3 separate regions of the Homo sapiens genome follow, and all the other regions are linked to region 2. Evidence: promoter capture Hi-C in 16 types of primary human blood cells and fetal thymus (Javierre and others, 2016). All regions are on one chromosome and are shown on one strand. Each heading gives the region's core, a stretch centred on a gene start or on the middle of the fragment in contact. The rest is flanking DNA. Distances are from core to core; before and after follow the strand shown.

Region 1 (4,440 bases), core at 1,425-3,924, 240 kb before region 2:
CTGTGCCCGGCCTATGTCGTATTTTTATTGCACCTTTTCTATGTTTAGATACACAAATACTCACATTGTGTCACAGCTGCCTACAGTATTCAGGACAGTCACATGCTGTGCAGAGTTGTAGCTTAGGAGCAAAAGGATCTGCCATAGAACCTAGGTGTGCAGTAGGCTACATCATGTAGGTGTGTGTAAGTACACTAATCTAGGATGCTTGCACAACGACAAAATTGCCTAATGACACGTTTGTCAGAATGTATTCCTGTCAATAAGCAATACATGACTATAATTTATATCCTCAGAGACACACAAAAAAATTGTAAGTTGGGTGCAGTAACATGCAAGTGCAGCCCCAGCTACTCGGGAGGCTGAGGCAGGAGGAACACTTAAGCCCTGGAGTTTAAGGCCAGCCTGGACAACAAAGTGAGACCCTGTCTTAAAATTTAAAGATAAGAAATTGGGCCGGGAATGGTGACTCACACCTGTAATCCCAACACTTTAGGAGGCCAAGGCGGCTGGATCACTTGAGGTCAGGAGTTTGAGACCAGCCTGGGCAACATGATGAAACCCCATCTCTTCTAAAAATACAAAAATTAGCCAGGCGTGGTGGTGCATCCCTGTAATCTCAGCTACTCAGGAGGCAGGAGAATCGCTCGAATCCAGGAGGTAGAGGTTGTAGTGAGCCGAGATTGCACCACTGCACTCCAGCCTGGGCGACAGAGTCAGACTCTGTCTCAAAAAGAAAAAAAAGAAAACAAAAATATAGGCAACAGACAAGCATCCTCAAACATGAAATAACAGAGAATATTGCAAAGACGAGCCCTTCTTGAAAAATCCACCTGACAGTGTAATCCAATCACTCAAATGATGAATCAAAGTGAAAAACTCAGGAACAGAGAAGCTGTGCCAAATAAACTCATCATGAATAATAAAAAATGTTAAGGCTAACATGCCAAGGGACTTATGGTTGCAGATGAGAATATAAACATTATAGATTATGACAAAGTAAAATTTGTGTAAGGAATAAAAGTCAGGAAGAGGATGAGGAGGTGGGAAAAATAATTACTTTGTTCTTCATTACAGGGAGTCAATCTATTCTCTACTGTCCAAAACTCAAACTAAGCAGATTTTGCCTTTACTGCAAGAGATAGTAGATTCTGAAATGATTATTAACCACTTACTGATTTTCATAACCTCCTTTCTTAATTTTAGAGGGTTTTTTTTTTTAAAGGAATTGCAGTATCTTTTGCTGAAGATACATTAATCTGACTGAGGTTTGGCATTCTTCTGTTTCACTTCGCTTTCTTTTTCTGATACTTTTGACTAAAATTAAATATTATCATTTTAATGCCATAAATATGTTGCCATTCTCTTAAAATTCCTTCTTTGTAAGTGTGTACAGGCTGTCTGGTTACTAACCTACCCATCTTTATACAGAGAGGTAGAGGCGTGTCAGCCATCTAATGATAATAGTAGTTATCTATAGATGGAGGGCTGGGGAGGGCAATGTTTGTTTTCTTCCTTACACTCTTTGTATTGCTTGAATTTTAAATAATAAATGTTTATAATTTTCATTTCATAAAATGCAGTCATTACTTTTAGAAATTCAAAGATACACCAGATAAATGCTAATAAAAAGAAAGAAGAAATGGCAATATTATTATTACTTTTCTTTCTTTTTAACCTTTGCTACTTCTTCCAGGAAGGAATAGCAATATTAATGCCAAACAAATGTGAAATTAAGGGAAAAGGCATTACAAGGAATGGAGAGGTATATTCATGTGGATAAAAAGCCCAACCCACCAAAAAAACATAACATTCATGAACATTTATGTACCTAATAACATAGCTTTGACATATATGAAGCAAAAATAGAAAGAACACAATGAAAATCTAATAGATGAACAAGTATACTGGGAGATAAGATTTTAACACATCTCTCAGAAATAAAGGTGATAAAAGTAAATAAGGGTACACATTATTTAAATAACACAATTAACAAGCTTAACTTAATAGATATGTAGAGAACTTTATACGCAACAAACAGAATACACATTTTAAAACACCCATACACTGAACACTCTGAAAATACATGATCATTTATTATTTATTAGACCACAAAAAGATCTCAACAAATTTCCCCCACCCTACCCCCCAAAAAAATCCACACAAAAATAAACACTAGATAGCACACAGACTGCATTCTCTAACCATAATAAGAGACTAACAATAAAAGGTCATACTGAAACAGTTTTCCTGGAAGTCCTGTGATCTTAGGAAAAGAACACAGCTCTTGGTGTCAGGCCACAACTCAAACTCCAGTTCTGCCACTTACCAGAGTTTTGTAACTTTGGAAAGGCCCTTAACCTCCCTATCCTCAAATTCCTCATTGTAAAGTAAGGATAAGCAAGAAATCCTCCCCTAGGGCTGTGGTGAGGATTAAACTCAAAAAAATGTGAGTCCTCTCCTTCAGGAAACATGTTAAGTCTCTGTGAAAGTATGGATGCAAAAGGTCATGGCTGATATCAAATCACAAATGCAGAGAGGTAAACTGAGGCACCAGGAGGACAATTCAGAGAACAGACATCAAATCATGATGCTCTCCACCTTCCAGATTCTTCACCTCTCCTCTGAGGACCCCTCATGCTCCCTAGAAGGAGGCCCTGGAGAGAGAACAAGGCCCTTACCTCGAGAACAAGTCACGCAGGCTGTACAGCGGTCGGCCTCATCCAGGTAGTAGTCAGGCTCACACTGCTTCCTGCAGTCAGTAGGCCTCTGTGGGCACTGCTGTGTCGGGAACAGCCCTGGGAAAAGAAACAGAGAAGCTCCAAGCCAGGCTGACTTAGCAAAGGCCTTATGACCCAATGCCCCACACCTCTCATCCCTGACGCCCCTCCCAGCTCCACCTCCAACCCCCGAAAACTGTCAGTCCAATTCTTGTGTTATGGATGGAAGCACTGACACCCAGGAGGGGCAACCCTCGCCTAAGGTCCCCTAGCAGGCAAGGAAAAGCAACATAGTTATAGAGAAGAGCTGGGCCTGGGATTCTAGGGCTGCCATTTGCCAATTGCGTGATAATGACCTTGTCAGCACTATTTGTGTGTGTGTGTGTGTGAGGGTACATAGTACGTGTATATATTTAGCACTATTAAGTTAGTAATAGGACCCACCTCCTAGTGTTCTTGAAAGGACTGAATGGACTGTGAAGATAAATATGTATAAAGTACTACAGCAGTCCCTGGCACCCAACAAGCACTATATGAGCACCGGTTGTCATCATTCTCTGCAGGGGTCTTATCTCACTGCAGGAATTAGGAGAGCCATAACTTTAGACCATGAAAGTCTAGACCAAGCTTGTCCAACCCACGACTAGCCGCATTCGGCCCAGGACAGCTCTGAATGAGGCCCAACGCAAACTCATAAACTTTCTTAAAACATTATGAGATTTGCGTGTGTGTGATTTTTTTTTTTTTTTTTTTTAGCTCATCAGCTATAAGCTAAAACACTATCCTTAGTGTTAGACTAAATTCACTTCTTCCACACTAACACTTCTTCTTCCAATGTGGCCCAGGGAAGCCGAAAGATTGGACACTCCTGCCACTAAGACCCTAATCCAGCCTGATTTCGAGATAAACAAGTCACCCAGCAATCGCTGCCTACCTTGCTTCCAGGATGAGCACATGACCCAAGCAGGCCAATCAGAATACTTCTTCCCATCAATATAATTGGCTCAGGATTGCCACATGACCCAAGCAGGCCAATCAGAGTACTCCATGTTCCTCACCACTGTGATTAGTTTAGTATGGGCACATGACCCAGGCATGCCAGCCAATAAGCCTCATCTCTGAGAGTTTCACAAAAGCAATCCAGAAAGATGTCCTCCGTTTATCTACTGGATTCCTGGCTGAAAGGGCTAGTTAAGCCCAGAGCTGCCCAGGTCATCACAGCCTGAGCGTGGGCATGGTGTGGGCAGGACTTGCCTAAGAAGGAGGTGACTCAGAAGCCAGCAGAAGCCAGAGTTGGAGAGAAATGGGCTCCTGAGGACATCGTTCAAACATCTGAATGTAGGGTGTCCATGGACTTCTCTGTTAGGGAGCCAATTATTTCTCTTTTGTCTTATTTGAGCCCTTCTGCCAGTTACAATGAAAATAGACCAGGGGGTTCCCAATATTTCTTGTGCCCCTAATCATTCTAAGGAAGCCTGTGGACACTGCACAGAATCATGAATTCATGAATAAAATATGCAGGAATGCAGAGGAATCCAACTACCTTGGAATATGGTTATCAAAGCATTAAACAAAATAACATATAGTAACAGGCCGGGTGCGGTGGCTCACGCCTGTAACCCCAACACTTTGGGAGGCCGAGGTGGGTGAATCACATAAGGTCAGGGGTTCAAGACCAGCCTGGCCAACGTGGTGAAACACCGTCTCTACTAAAAATACA
Region 2 (4,263 bases), core at 212-2,711:
AGGGGAGTGACATCAGTCATATATGCTTTAGGGGGGTATTTAAGCTGCTATGACTCTTCTCAGGGGCATTTCTCTCCAAAGTCTCACTTCTAATCACCAGGCCACCTGCTAATGATAATTAGATCATGGGTGGTCAGATGAAGGAGGCACTGGGAGAGGGGAAATCCCCATATCTCTGGTATCCCAGCAAATAGATAACCATCATTCCAGCCATCCTTTTGTTTTCTTTCTTTCTTTCTTTCTTTCTTTCCTTCTTTCTTTCTTTCTTTTTTCGCTCTCTGTCAACCAGGCTGGAGTGCAGTGGCGTGATCTCAGCTCACTGCAACCTCCACCTCCTGGGTTCAAGTGATTCTCCTTCCTCAGCCTCCCGAGTAGCTGGGACTACAGGCGCCTGCCACCATGCCCAGCTAATTTTTGGTAATTTTAGTAGAGACGGGGTTTCACCGTGGTCTCGATCTCCTGACCTCGTGATCCGACCGCCTCGGCCTCTCAAAGTGCTGGGATTACAGGCGTGAACCACCATGCCCAGCCTATCCTTTTGTTTTCCATCCTGTGTTGGCTTGGTGGGGGAGAGGAGGTGTTGACACGTGGAGGACACACATATAAGGCATTCTTGGGTGACTTCGTCATCACTGGACCCTATCTCTCAAAATTCCAGCGAAATCTGCTCTTCCCTTTAAGGAGTGAAAGAAGGGTCAGCATTCCAGAAGTTCCTGGTCATACCCAGGCTTTTAATGAATTGCCACTGGGGAATCAGCATCCCGTTGCTGTAAGGACTATAAGATGGCGGATTGTGAGAGCATAGGGAAAGGTCTCGGAGGTCTCTTGTCCTTGCTCCACGCAGGTCTTTCTGGCCTGAAAATCCCGTTGAAGAGAGCAGCTCTTGAGAGTTTGCTCCAAGTTCCCTCGGGGTGATCAGCACCACGGACAGCGGCCAGGGCGCCCCCGAGGACCCGCAGGCAGGCAGGGTGCACAGCGGCGAGCAGGTGCTGCGCTACGTGCGGGCCAGGGAACTCGCGCGGGGAGGGGAGAGGCGCCGCGGGTGGCGGGGTCTTGGCCGGGGCTGTTTTCGCTGTGAGTCACCCCGTGCTCCCCGCGCTCACGTCGGTCCTCGGAAAGCCGGGGTCCTCCCTGCCTTTTCCAGCAACGGTGGGGTGGGGAGGCAGGAAGAAAGCGCCAACCTAGGACACCTGGACATTTGCAGGAAAGGAAGAAGCGGGAGACGGGGACTTGTCTGTGTCTCCAGCGCGTTCCTGCCCCCCGGCCCGACCCGGCCCATTTCTATACAAGGTCGGCTCTGCCCGGTCTCCACCTCCCACGTCGCAGGCGCGGAGGGGCTCATTCCCGGGCCCTGATCTCAGAGGCCCGGAATGTGGCTGATAAATCAGAGATAACCCTGCATGGCAGGGCAGGCCCGACACTCAGCTCCAGGATAAAAGGCCACGGTGTCCCGAGGAGCCAGGAGGAGCACCCCGCAGGCTGAGGGCAGGTGGGAAGCAAACCCGGACGCATCGCAGCAGCAGCAGCAGCAGCAGAAGCAGCAGCAGCAGCCTCCGCAGTCCCTCCAGAGACATGGATCCCCAGACAGCACCTTCCCGGGCGCTCCTGCTCCTGCTCTTCTTGCATCTGGCTTTCCTGGGAGGTCGTTCCCACCCGCTGGGCAGCCCCGGTTCAGCCTCGGACTTGGAAACGTCCGGGTTACAGGTGAGAGCGGAGGGCAGCTCAGGGGGATTGGACAGCAGCAATGAAAGGGTCCTCACCTGCTGTCCCAAGAGGCCCTCATCTTTCCTTTGGAATTAGTGATAAAGGAATCAGAAAATGGAGAGACTGGGTGCCCTGACCCTGTACCCAAGGCAGTCGGTTCACTTGGGTGCCATGAAGGGCTGGTGAGCCCAGGGGTGGGTCCCTGAGGCTTGGACGCCCCCATTCATTGCAGGAGCAGCGCAACCATTTGCAGGGCAAACTGTCGGAGCTGCAGGTGGAGCAGACATCCCTGGAGCCCCTCCAGGAGAGCCCCCGTCCCACAGGTGTCTGGAAGTCCCGGGAGGTAGCCACCGAGGGCATCCGTGGGCACCGCAAAATGGTCCTCTACACCCTGCGGGCACCACGAAGCCCCAAGATGGTGCAAGGGTCTGGCTGCTTTGGGAGGAAGATGGACCGGATCAGCTCCTCCAGTGGCCTGGGCTGCAAAGGTAAGCACCCCCTGCCACCCCGGCCGCCTTCCCCCATTCCAGTGTGTGACACTGTTAGAGTCACTTTGGGGTTTGTTGTCTCTGGGAACCACACTCTTTGAGAAAAGGTCACCTGGACATCGCTTCCTCTTGTTAACAGCCTTCAGGGCCAAGGGGTGCCTTTGTGGAATTAGTAAATGTGGGCTTATTTCATTACCATGCCCACAATACCTTCTCCCCACCTCCTACTTCTTATCAAAGGGGCAGAATCTCCTTTGGGGGTCTGTTTATCATTTGGCAGCCCCCCAGTGGTGCAGAAAGAGAACCAAACATTTCCTCCTGGTTTCCTCTAAACTGTCTATAGTCTCAAAGGCAGAGAGCAGGATCACCAGAGCAATGATAATCCCCAATTTACAGATGAGGAAACTGAGGCTCAGAGAGTTGCATTAAGCCTCAAACGTCTGATGACTAACAGGGTGGTGGGTGGCACACGATGAGGTAAGCTCAGCCCCTGCCTCCATCTCCCACCCTAACCATCATCACCCTCTCTCTTTCCCTGACAGTGCTGAGGCGGCATTAAGAGGAAGTCCTGGCTGCAGACACCTGCTTCTGATTCCACAAGGGGCTTTTTCCTCAACCCTGTGGCCGCCTTTGAAGTGACTCATTTTTTTAATGTATTTATGTATTTATTTGATTGTTTTATATAAGATGGTTTCTTACCTTTGAGCACAAAATTTCCACGGTGAAATAAAGTCAACATTATAAGCTTTATCTTTTGAAACTGATTTGTCTTGGCGCATTAAAAATAATCCCTCATTTCAAAGAAACCAACCCAACTAAAACCACAAAGCCCTGTGATCTCAAGGCATCTTCATGGTGGGATGAGGATGTGGCCTCAGAGGTAGCAGGCTTTCTTTTCTTTCAGAGTTTTTAATGCTCTGAAATGTTATTGAATATCTCAAGCACTTGAGGCACTTGGGAGAAACTGCTTTTCAAAGCAGGGCAGGATACGTGTGCAACCTGAGGGCACGTATCCAGCCGTTTTCTCCACTCGTCCTTGCTCTGCCTGGAATTCCACCATTAAAGCACTCTCCCTGGGGATTATTGCTTTCAGGTCTCAGCTAAAATGTCAACGACTGGGGGCAGTGTGTGTGGGTGTGGCTCATCTACATTCCCATACCGGGGTGAGCCCTCCATCCTGCCCCAAATATCAGCTTTGAAACTCCAATTCCTGGGGTCATCCTGCAAAGGAGCCTTCAAAACTCCAACCCACAAAGTGAGAGGGGTCTGGCAATCAGCCCAGCTTTCCAGGGTGCCCCTCCCCTGGGGCTGCATCATCTCTTCTCTTTGCCTTAACCAGTGGGGAGGCTGTCTCTCCTATGGGTCCCCTTCCCACACACCCTGCAATCCAGGCCTCCGCAGTGCTGAGTTCCTCTCCTTTCAGATTCCTGGGAAGGGCCTCATGTCATTCGCTTTCTCACAATGCCATTTATAATTCCAGCTCAGCTGAGGGGTAAGGCACCATGAGGTCCACTATTATTATGTCCATTTTCCAAATGGGAAAACTGAGACCCGGGAAAACTGAGACCCTGGAAAACCAAGCGTCCTATCCAAGAGCACACAGCGACTAAGCGCTGGTGTGGGAACTGAGCGGAGATCCAGGTGACTCTTGAGCCTGTGCTCTCTGACTCTTGAGCCCCACACTCCTGCCCTTGAACTTCACTCTCAAGTCTTTTCTGATGTTCTCATCAGATGTTTCTTTGAATGAGAGTGACCTAGAGGGTGGAACTTTGTGTTATTTATCATTTTCACCCAGTGTGCATCTGAGGATTTATGGATATCTAATGACATCAATTAAGATTGTTTAGACTGGGTGCGGTGGCTCACACCTGTAATCCCAGCACTTTGGAAGGCCGAGGCCAGAGGATCACCTGAGGTCAGGAGTTCGAGACCAGCCTGGCCAACATGGTGAAATCCCCTTTCTACTAAAAATACAAAAATTAGCCGGGCATGGTGGTGTGTGCCTGTAATTCCAGCTATTCAGGAGGCTGAGGCAGGGGAATCGCTTGAATCTGAGAGGTGGAGGTTGCAG
Region 3 (4,031 bases), core at 1,178-3,677, 180 kb before region 2:
ACCCCCCAGGTTCAAGCGATTCTCCTGCCTCAGCCTCCCGAATGGCTGGGACTACAGGCACACGCCACCACACCCAGCTAATTTTTGTATTTTTAGTAGAGACGAGGTTTCACCATGTTGGCCAGGATGGTCTCGATCTCATGACCTCGTGATCCGCCCACCTCAGCCTCCCAAAGTGCTGGAATTACAGGTGGGAGCCAGCGCACCCGGCCAGCTCCACACCTTTCTATTGAGGAATCCATCTCCCTGCCTTGTTAGGTGTGGTGGTGCTCGCCAGTTGTCTCACCTATTCAGGAGGCTGAGGCGGGAGGATCACTTGTGCCCAGTTCGGGGCTTTGGTGCCCTATGCTGATGGGGTGTCTGCACTAACTTGAGCATCAATATGGTGACCTCCTTGAAACCAGGTTGCCTAAGGAGGGTTAAACCAGCTCAGGTTGGAAATAGAGCAGGTCAAAACTCCAGTGCTGATCAGCAGTGGGGTAAATAGCCACTGTGCTCCAGCCTGGGCAAGGGCAAGAACCTGCCTCTAAAAAAGCTCTTATTTTAATTATTTTTATTTTTTGAGGCGGAGTCTCACTCTGTCACCCAGGCTGGAGTGCAATAGCGCGATCTTAGCTTGCTGCAACCTCCGCCTCCCAAGTTCAAGTGATTCTCATAGCTCAACCTCCTGAGTAGCTGGGATTATAGGTGCTTGCCAATATGCCCAGCTAATTTTTGTATTTTTCATAGAGACAGGGTTTCACCATGTTGGCCAGGCTGGTCTCAAACTCCTGACCTCAAGTGATCCACCCGCCTCAGCCTCTCAAAGTTCTGGGATTACAGATGTGAACCACCATGCCCAGCCTCTTTTTTCTTTTTCTGAGACGGAGTCTCGCTCTGTCGCCCAGGCTGGAGTGCAGTGGCGCGATCTTGGCTCACTGCAAGCTCCACTTCCCGGGTTCACACTATTCTCCTGCCACAGCCTCCGGAGAAGCTGGGACTACAGGTGCCCGCCACCATGCCCGGCTAATTCTTTTGTATTTTTTATTAGAGACGGGGTTTCACCATATTAGCCAGGATGGTCTCGATCTCCTGACCTCATGATCCGCCCGCCTTGGCCTCCCAAAGTGCTGGGATTACAGGCATGAGCCACTGTGCCCGGCCTTTTTTTTTTTTTTTTTTTTTTAAGAGAGATGGGGTCTTGCTATGTTGCCCAGGCTGGATTTGAGCTTCTGCCTTTTCTCACGTCCTCAGCTGACTGTCTCCAGCATGGTTAGGTCCAAGAAGACAAACTTCAGGCCGCTGCCTGGCCAGGGTCATGGTTCTAAGCCGTGGTGCAGGCAATGGAGGAGTCAGATCTTTGTTCTTATTTCTAAATGACCAACACAAGACACTAGTTTTGGGAGAAGTAGGTGATCTTGCCTTTTTCCTTTGGGATTTACAGTACATACTCAGAAGGCACAAAAAAAGAAAAGAATGCTATCAGTATGGGAGAGGGGGTGCATGTAAGGTGTATCAGGAGTGTGCCCAACCACCAGGGTCCTTTCATGCAGAGAAATGAAAGCATTTGTCCAGTAACCTTCACAAGGCAGGTAAGAAACCAGGCTAGAGGGAAAAGCCAAATTCTGGAACACAGTTCAGCCAGTACTTTTGAAAAAGTACAATACAAAACTATTTCAATGAAGAAAAACAATGCCATCTCTGTTTTCAGGAAGCTGCAATTCTCGCAGGGGAGAGAGCTTAGGCAATGCATCTCACCGTTAGTTACTTAATACTACTACTCAGGGGCCTTGGAGAAGAGCAGGAAGGCAGGCTGTGTGATGGCGGGGGCAGATCTGAGAACCCAGAGGTTCAGGGAGGACCTCTTGAAAGAAGAGACATCCAAGCTGAGACATGGATGGGGCAAGGGTGGGAGACAAGACGAGCATCCAGGGTGACCCCAAGTTGTAGGGGTGAAAGGCCCAGGAGAATTAAGAACAGCTTGCAAGTACCTGGGAGGGTAGTGGGGACATTCACGAAATGGAACTGTGTGGGTGCTGGAGAGCTGCAAGACATGGGCTCTGCTCTAGGGGCCTCCTGCCTGGAACCTTCATTCTTGGGGCCCCTTCAGCTTGAATAAGCCTGTATCCCATGCTGAAATCAGTCCTAAGAAGTGACTGGAGAGGCAGCCCCAGGCCCAGGGCTTTCTCAAGCACCTCCCTGCCGTTCTCCGGAGGCCAGGGGCAGTGGCTCATGCCTGTAATCCCAGCACTTTGGGAAGTCAAGGCAGGTGGATTACTTGAGGCCAGGAGTTTGAGACCAGCCTGGCCAACATGGAGAAACCCCTTCTCTATTAAAAATACAAAAATTAGCCGGGCATGGTGGCAGGCGCCTGTAATCCCAGCTACGCGGGAGGCTGAGGCATGAGAATCACTTGAATTTGCAAGGACGTTGCAGTGAGCCGAGATTGCACCACTGTACTCTAGCCTAAGCGACAGACCCTGTCTCAAAAATTAAAAAGAAAAAGAGTTCTCAAGCGACCAGCAGGAAGGATCTGGTTCAGGCTGTGGTCTTCCTACCCCCGCTGATGGCTCCAGATGGCCCCAAGGAGGCTGCCTTCTGAAGAGATAGCCAGGAACAGGCAGAGCAGAGGTCAGTACGTGGGAAGACAGGAGTTATTTGCCGCCACACAAAGAGGGTCTTTCAGGCTATGGCGCCACAGGTTTCATTCAGCGCAGTGTCTACAGACTTTGGGCTGTGGTTCTTGTGCATGGAACTTACTGGAAGCAAGCAAGCTGGAAGTCTTCCAAAGTTTCAAAAGAACTGTTTTTCCAGAGAAACCATGCACCCTGATGCATTATGGGCCCTGTGGCAGCATTCCAGCCTGTACGGTGATGGAAAAGAAGCATTTCTCTCTGGGTTAGGCTGTTGCTGTTTTGGACTTCTGTTATACACGGCTAAATCTGTAAGCTGATCTCAGCTTTGTAAATTTTGTAATTTTTTTTTTTTTGAGACAGAGTCTTGCTCTGTACCCCAAGCTGGAGTGCAATGGCACCATCTCGGCTCACTGCAACTTCCGCCTCCTGGGTTCAAGTGATTCTCATGCCTCTGCCTCCCAAGTAGCTGGGATTACAGGCATGTGCCACCATGTCTGGCTAGTTTTTAAATTTTTTACTAGAGATGGGGTTTTGCCATATTGGCCAGGCTGGTCTCAAACTCCTGACCTCAAGTGATCAGCCTGCCTTGGCCTCCCAAAGTACTGGGATTATATGGGTCAGTCACGGCACCTGGCCTAAATTTTGTAACTTTTTTTTCTTTTTCGAGACAGAGTATCACTGTCGCCCAGGTTGGAGTGCAGTGGCATGATCCGGCTCACTGCAACCTCTGCCTCCCAGGTTCAAGCCATTCTTCCGCCTCAGACTCCCGAGTAGCTGGGATTACAGGTGTGCATCACCATCCCCAGCTAATTTTTGTATTTTTAGTAGAGACGGGGTTTCGCCATGTTGGCCAGGCTGGTCACAAACTCCTGACCTCAAGTGATCCTCCTGCCTCGGCCTCCCAAAGTGCTGGGATTACAGGAGTGAGCCACCAAGCCCAGCCTGATTTTGTAACTTTTGTTTGACAGAAAGGCTTTGAATTATCTTCTCCCTGTGGCCAAAGAATTTCTAAAGAAACCACTGACTCCCACAGGTTCTCCGACTCAAAATTACACGTGGAACAACAAACCAAGCCCAACTGAAATATGGGACAAAGGACTTGACTTCTCCAAAGAAGATATACAAACAGGCTGGGTGCAGTGGCTTGTGCCTATAATCCCAGCATTTTGGGAGGCCCAGGTAGGAAAAGCCTGAGGCCTGGACAACATAGCAAGACCCTGTCTCTATTAAAAATAAACTAATAAACATGTACTCCTGAACTTAAGTTAAAAAAAAACTATTAATAAATATTTTTAAAATATACAAATGACCAATAAGCATATTAAAACATGCTCAACGTCACTAATCCTTAGGGAAATGCTAATAAAAACCACAATGAGATACACTTCACAGCCATTAGGATGGCTACTACCGAAA

What was found. The method cuts DNA at HindIII sites, captures the fragments that hold promoters and counts their contacts. A CHiCAGO score of 5 or more calls a contact.
Region 1: a contact is called between a fragment that was not itself captured here and the fragment with the promoter of NPPB in region 2, in 1 of 17 cell types (neutrophils). The highest score is 5.1, in neutrophils.
Region 3: a fragment that was not itself captured here is called in contact with the fragment with the promoter of NPPB in region 2 in 2 of 17 cell types (erythroblasts and megakaryocytes); the score reaches 6.3 in erythroblasts.

The regions. Positions count from the first base shown.
Region 1 is chr1:12,095,459-12,099,898 of GRCh38, reverse strand. TNFRSF8 (TNF receptor superfamily member 8) reads right to left here. Exons shown (of 15, transcript NM_001243.5): 3 at 2,682-2,798. Among named protein-coding and RNA genes, the nearest start is that of TNFRSF8, 34 kb to the right of the region's middle. The HindIII fragment of the contact is 1,350 bases long and covers 2,000-3,349 here.
Region 2 is chr1:11,856,143-11,860,405 of GRCh38, reverse strand. NPPB (natriuretic peptide B) reads left to right here and starts at 1,461. Exons shown (of 3, transcript NM_002521.3): 1 at 1,461-1,704; 2 at 1,937-2,192; 3 at 2,735-2,942. The coding sequence starts at 1,573. The coding sequence ends at 2,751. RefSeq lists a silencer at 896-1,062. The HindIII fragment of the contact is 3,284 bases long and covers 1-2,939 here.
Region 3 is chr1:12,033,237-12,037,267 of GRCh38, reverse strand. It overlaps the pseudogene RN7SL649P. Among named protein-coding and RNA genes, the nearest start is that of MIR6729, 6.1 kb to the right of the region's middle. The HindIII fragment of the contact is 5,792 bases long and covers 1-4,031 here.